2 separate regions of the Homo sapiens genome follow, and region 2 is linked to region 1. Evidence: promoter capture Hi-C in human tissues and cell types (Jung and others, 2019). All regions are on one chromosome and are shown on one strand. The core of a region is centred on a gene start or on the middle of the fragment in contact, and the rest is flanking DNA. Distances in the headings are between cores, read along the strand shown. Region 1 holds the start of NTN4 (netrin 4). Region 2 overlaps SNRPF-DT (SNRPF divergent transcript).

Region 1 (3,461 bases), core at 586-3,085:
AATACAGAGAAGATTAGCATGGCCTCTGCATGAGAATGGCATACAAATTTGTGAAGCATTCTATATTTTTAGCAATATATTGTACTCTTGAAAAATGCTAAGACAGTGAGTGTATTCTTAAATGCATGTTAATATGCAAAAATGCATATGTTCATTGGCTAGATTTAGTCATTCCACGCTGTATACATATTTCAAAACATCATGTTGTACATGATAAATACATACAAGTTTATTTGTTAATTAAAAAACAGAAATGGATTAGTTCTGCCTAAATATACTAGACTCAGAAGTTAATAATAAATGTGCATCCACCCCTTTGTTTAATTTGCCTTGGCTATTAAGTTAACATTTATGCTAAGAACCTTTGGCTGTTATAGTTTCCTATCATTTATTTGGTAAAAAGATTAATTGGAGAGGTGTTTCAATGGCTCCATTAGGAGATATGAAGAAAGCCCCACCATTGCCAGTATTTGGGAACTCAAAGCGTTTATTTTCTAAAGCAGGTGATGCTACATGAATTGCTGTCCACACCTTCTGCTACTTTCCTCTGTTGGCCAGAAGAATAATTTTAATGTCGCCCAAATGGATTATGCTGACCTCAACCCAGATCCCCCTGGGAGATATAAACTTCTTATATGTTCCTGGCTGGGTCATTGTAAATAATATCTACATGTATCCCAAAGCTCTGAATTATCCTCATCTGTAACAGACACAACGACTAAATGGTATCTGGAACGTAGTTAATTTTCTGGAAAATATTCAAAGGAACAAAATGAGCACTGCAATACAAAATTGCTGTCGACTTAACTTTTGCCAGTTTCCCTGGATGTGTAAGTAGAATTATATTTTCACAGAACTTGCAAAAATCTCAGACTCGGCTGCTATTTAATCTCTTTCCAGAAGCACCAGCCCTGAGCAATCCTATCTGCAATTAGCTGCGTGTGGTTGCTACTAAATTGCTCCCCATAAGTTAGTTCCTAACACTGTTTCACAGCACGGCATACTCTATAAAGGGAGAACGCTTGGAAGGACCGAAGAGTTCCCTTTGTCGTGCCCTTGCCCTGCCTCTGGACAACGATGTTCTTACACTGCCGACTAGCTAATCCTGTGACCCTTTTCTTTCAGCACCTTGAGTTTGAGTTAGGCAATACCTCTTACACCAAAGTGGGCACACCTTCGGATCATGTAGGCAGCGATTGTTTAGCCGAGACATCCCCCTACCCCCGCAAAAGGCAGCAGAGAAGCGGCGAACGCCGCTTAGCAGTTGGCGCGCTCTCAGTGCGGGTGACGCGGGGCTGGGTTGGGGTGTTCCGTCCCCGGGTCGTGGGACTCCCCGAGAGGGGGTGGCTGGAGGAGGAGGGAGGGCTTGTTTCGCTGGGGGATGTGGGAAGTAGGCGCTAGCCTGTTTCGCGGTTTTTTAAGCCCCTTGGCATGCCCTGACCTGATCTAGAGGGAGTCTACTGCTCTTAGGAATGTTCCGGGAGAAGGTGGGAGATTGCTTCCCAGGGGAGGCCTGTGGGTGCTGCAGGGCACCAGGGGGGTCACTAGGGAGATGCAGGGCGCGGGCCAGGAGGGGCGCCAGGGCAGCCGGGGGCCAGGCTGAGGCGACCGGGACCAGCGGGCAGCCGGGCGTCGGGGGCGTCGGTCGGGGCGCGGGGGACCCCCCCCCCGGGCGGCAGCGGCAGCGGCGATCCGATCCCGCGGGCTGCGCCGCCCGGGCTGTCAAGCGCGGGGGGCGGGCGGGAGGAAGGGGTGGAGGTGCGAGGGGAGGAGGGCTGGCACCGGAGCGCCGCGGCGTCGGTGCAATAAAAATGCATCGCATGGAACTGCCCGTGGAGAAGGACGGGACGGAGCCGGGGCAGCCAGAAGAGGTGGGAAAAGCGGAGGAGGACGCCCAGGAGGAGGCGGCGGCGGCGGCCGGGAAGTGAAAGGTCTCGCAAAGTTCAGCGGCGGCTGCGGGCGCCGAGCCCCGGGCTAGCGGCAGACGAGCCCGCAGGGCCGCTCCGCGGGGCAGCGCAGCCAGGCCGGCTATGGTCCCGGGGCTCCCGCCGCCCCCCAGGTGCCCGGGACCCGCCAGGCCGGTGCGCGAGGGTCACCCCACCTCCCCGCGCGGTCCCGGCCCCTGGCTCCCAGCTGCCGGCGACCGCTGACCGAGCCCGGCGCCCCAGGAGGAGGAAGAAACCAGGGCCCCGTTCCCTCCCGAGGACGGCGGCGCTTCATCCCGCAGCCCAGAGGTCTCGGCTCCCTCCGGCACCCGCCCGGCCCGGCTGCTCCCGGCTCCTCCCGGCCATGGGGAGCTGCGCGCGGCTGCTGCTGCTCTGGGGCTGCACGGTGGTGGCCGCAGGTGGGTGGTGACGCGGCGGGGCCCCCACCCCTTCCCTCGCTGCTTCTCTAACCCATCTCGGGACTCGGGGGTGCAGGGGAGCCAGGGCTGCGAGCGCAGAGCGCTGCTCCCGAGGGTGAAATGAGTGGCCATGTTCCGCCTCCTTTCCCCGGGGCTCCGCAGTTTCAAATACTATTGATTTATTTTTACAACTGGGATACACATGCGCTTGGATAACCAGCTATCCTGGGTGCGCCCTGCCGGGGATACTGCGACCGGGGTTTCTTTCTTGGTTTGGCTTGTTAAAAAACTGCTTTTCCACTTGGTGAGGGAACAAAGGACCCAGCTCGCCATCCCCCGGCACTTCATGGCCTAAGGAATGATGAGGAGGGGTGGCCCAGCGACCCTGGGCGCGCGTGGGCTGGGGCCGGTCTCTGGTAGAAGCCCATCGCTGGTGTCCCTGACCTGGTGCTGGGTACTAGAGAACCAGGTAAGGACACCTGGGGCAGGGCTGAGCGCCCTCTCCCCGGAGCAGTGACTGGAACGCAGTGGGACTCCTGGCTTGGACGATAGGTGGTGATCACCCCGGGCTTGCATTGAGCTGGCTGGCCGCCCCTGGGGAATTGGTACCCTGGCAGAGACTCTGCGGGAGGTCGGAGGCGGGTCTGCTCCCTGGCTCGGTAACTGGACAACCGGCGTCGGCGTCGGCAGATGCCCTCTCCCTCCCACTCCCATCCTGGCTTTCTTGGGCTGCCCTAGGCCACCGGCTCCTGGCTCGTGGTTTCTGTATTCGGGAGCCCCTTCTGCTCCTCTCCCTCCCTCTTGCGGGTCACCTGGTTTCCAGTTAGGCGTAAGCGCAGCCCTGTAGGTGAGGGGGAGAGATGTGAGGGAGTCTGCAGACATCCAGTCTCTCGTGCGGATCTTGACTGCTTCAGAAAGGGGCGCCTGGGCTAGAGGGATGCGCTGGTGGCTACAGAACATTGTAGCACGCATCTCCTCCCTTGGGCTTCCACTCTTCCCTGAGGGCCGCTGGCACCCAGCAAAATCCAGGCTTTCCAGTCTGCATCCCAAACCAGTCCAAGTCACAGGAGCATCCTTAGTATCATTGAATAGTCCCTTGAGTGACTCCAAGTATTTT
Region 2 (3,363 bases), core at 847-3,346, 47 kb before region 1:
CCTCTGCCTAGGAAAACCAGAGACCTTTGTTCACTTGTTTATCTGCTGACCTTCCCTCCACTATTGTCCTATGACCCTGCCAAATCCCCCTCTGCGAGAAACACCCAAGAATGATCAATAAAAATAAAAAATAAAAAATAAAAAAAAAAAAAAAAAAAAAAAAAAAACTGTGGACATGTATAAAGACGTTCATGGTCAATACTAGTGAAGTGGCTAAATAATACTTCAATTGGCAACAATATTTTCATATGATAAAATTTAATACAGGCTGGGCACCATGGCTCACACCTGTAATCCCAGCACTTTGGGAGGCTGAGGTGAGTGGATCACCTGTGGCCAGGAGTTCAAGACTAGCCTGGCCAACATGATGAAACCCTGTCTCTACTAAAAGTACAAAAAAATTAGCTGGGCATGGTGGTGGGCACCTGTAATCCCAGCTACTCAGGAGGCTGAGGCAGGAGAATCTCTTGAACCTGAGAGGCAGAGGTTGCAGTGAGCCTAGATCACACAATTTTACTCCAGCCTGGGCAACAAGAGCGAAACTCCACCTCAAAAAAAAAAAAAAAAAGTAATGCCATAATTTAAAATAATATTTACAAAGATTCTAATGACATGGGAAAATATAAGACATCAAAATATGTAAATAAATATTAATAATGTCAAAATATGGACATTTGAATATATGTGTCTAGAAAAACAGACTAAAAATAAACACCAAAATGTTATTAGTTGTTATGTTTAGGTTATGGGATTTGGGATGGTTAAATTTTCTTTATAATTTCCCGGGTTTTTCATTTTAAAAAATTTTGCCATTAGAAAGTGTGCCCTTGATAATAGAGAGATTATTTTTTAACTCAGTTAGCGTTAGGTCTTTAACATTTATGAATGCTTATGCCCATAACTATTCGTTCACAATTATGTTCCATACGATGGATTTACAGAATATGGTCACCATGACCCTGAAGTCACTTGCATACACACTAATTTAAACATGTAAATGTTCATTCAAGAATATATTCATCTGGCCAGGTGCAGTGGCTCACACCTGTAATCCCAACACTTTGGGAGGCCGAGGCAGGCGGATAACGAGGTCAGGAGTTTGAGACCAGCCTGGCCAACATGGTGAAACCCCATCTCTACTAAAAATACAAAAATTAGCTGGGCATGGTGATGCATGCCTATAATCCCAGCTACTGGGGAGGCTGAGGCAGGAGAATGGCTTGAACCCAGGAGGCAGAGTTTGCAGTGAGCCATGATCGTGCCACTGCACTCCAGCCTGGGTGATAGAGCAAGACTCCATCTCAAAAAAAAAAAAAAAAAAAAAAAAAGAATATATTTATCTGAGGAGATTAGCCAGTGAATCTTTCCTTTAAGAGGTGGTGGAAATGTATTCATTTTTAAAGTTAGCATTGGTAATATTAGAATAATAATAATCTAAACAATATCTTGTGCTATAGTCAGGTGTGAGCAGGGAAGGAGAGGGCTCCCCCACTACTCACACACCAGGTGTGTCGGGAGGCCATCCTGTGAGGTCAGGCGGTTGTTAACTGTTTCTCTACAGTAATAATTGGTCACAGCTGGCACTAGGGAAAGACAGTCTCGTACCAGATAGAAAACAGCTGAAACTGGTGATCAGCAGCTTCCGGATCAGATCTCAGCGTTGGATGAGCAGGAGAAGCAACGCAAGACCTCGGAAGCCTGCCAAGGTATAAAACCCCAAGTCAAAAGTTCAAACCGTGCTGGTCTTTCAAATCGCCCGCTTGGCCCTCTTTCAAGTGTACTTTCCTTCCTTTCCTTCCTGCTCTAAAGCTTTTGAATAAACTTTCACGCCTGCTCTAAAACTTGTCTTGGTCTCTCCTTCTGCCCCTCAGTCAAATTGTTTCTTCTGAGGAGGCAAGAATTGAGGTTGCTGCAGACCCAGATGGATATGGATTCTCCACCGCTAACAGGGCTATATACACAATTAATATTAATCATTCTGTTATAATCAAAATCATCCAGCAGAATTTCAGAATCTTGCAAAAGTTGACCATAATGTATCATATGGTCTTTTCCTCAAACCTCCTCCCCCCTCACCGCCGCCCTTTGTTTTAAGACAGTGTCCCACTCTGTCGCACAGGCTAGAGAGCAGGGGTGTGATCACAGCTTACTGCAGCCTCAAGCTCCCGGGCGCAAGTGATCCTCCCATCTCAGTCTCCCAAGTAGCTGGAACTACACCCATCACACACATTTTAAAATGTTTTATTAAGACAGGGTCTCATTACATTGCCTAGGCTGGTCTTGAACTCCTTGGCTTAAGGAATCCTCTTGCCTCAACCTCCCAAAGTGCTGGGATTACAAGCCTGAGCCACTGAACCTCTCCCTCTCTCCCTCTCTCCTCCCTCATCTCTCTCTCCCTCTCTCCCTCTCTCCTCCCTCTCACATCTCTCCCTTTCTCCTCCCTCCCTCTCTCCTCCCTCCCTCTCTCCATCTCTCTTCCCTCCCTCTCTCATCCCTCTCTCTCTCCTCCCTCTCTCCACCTTCTCTCCTCCCTCTCCGCCCTCTCTCCCTCTCCGCCCTCTCTCCCTCTCCTCCCTCTCTCCATCTTTCCCTCTCTCGTTTCTCTCTCCTGCTCTCATCCCTCTCTCCCTCTTTCTCTCTCTCCTCCCTCTCTCCACCCTCTCTCCTCCCTCTCTCCTCCCTCTCTCCCTCTCTCCCTCCTCCCTCTCTCCCTCTCCGTTTCTTCCTCTTTCCCTCTCTCCTTGTCTCTCTCCTCCCTCTCTCCCTCTCTCTCTCCTGCATCTATCCCTCTTTCCCTCTCTCCTCCCTCTCTCCCTCCCTCATCCCTCTCTCCCTCCCTCACCCTTCTCTCCCTCTTTCTCTCTCTCCTCCCTCTCTCCACCCTCCCCCTCTCTCTCCTCCCTCTCTCCCCGTCTCCTCCCTCTCTCCCTCTTTCCCTCTCTCCTCCCTCTCTCCCTCTTTCCCTCTCTCCTCCCTCTCTCCCTCTTTCCCTCTCTCCTCCCTCTCCTCTCCATCTCCTCCCTCTCTGCTCTCTCTCTTTCATTCTCAGGTTGCACACACTTACACTCCAAAGACTTATCTTTTAAGCACACTTCACCAGTAAACAAGGAAGCTGGCATTAACTCAAGCCAACACATTCCCTGCTTTCTGGACATTATAACATCTTGAGCCACAGTCCCTTCTGCATCTGAGTAAGTTTCCAGTATTTACCCACATTTCTGGCTGAGTTAACTCTCTCCTGCTGGGCAAGAAGATGAAAGTGAGATGAGATGGGGAGAGGAAATGTATAGAATGTGGATTTTAAACCAAGTATCTTCACCTATCCAAATAGGAACAGGACAGATATTTAGCCTTCCCTGAGCA

What was found. The method cuts DNA at HindIII sites, captures the fragments that hold promoters and counts their contacts. A contact is called where the count stands out against the background at its distance.
Region 2: a contact is called between a fragment that was not itself captured here and the fragment with the promoter of NTN4 in region 1, in 1 of the 25 tissues and cell types used here (H1 embryonic stem cells).

The regions. Positions count from the first base shown.
Region 1 is chr12:95,789,138-95,792,598 of GRCh38, reverse strand. NTN4 (netrin 4) reads left to right here and starts at 1,835. Exons shown (of 10, transcript NM_021229.4): 1 at 1,835-2,344. The coding sequence starts at 2,290. It also overlaps the pseudogene RNU6-247P. The HindIII fragment of the contact is 9,266 bases long and covers 1-3,461 here.
Region 2 is chr12:95,836,615-95,839,977 of GRCh38, reverse strand. All of the region lies in intron 1 of SNRPF-DT (SNRPF divergent transcript), which reads left to right. Among named protein-coding and RNA genes, the nearest start is that of SNRPF-DT, 21 kb to the left of the region's middle. RefSeq lists a silencer at 1,460-1,660. The HindIII fragment of the contact is 5,755 bases long and covers 1-3,363 here.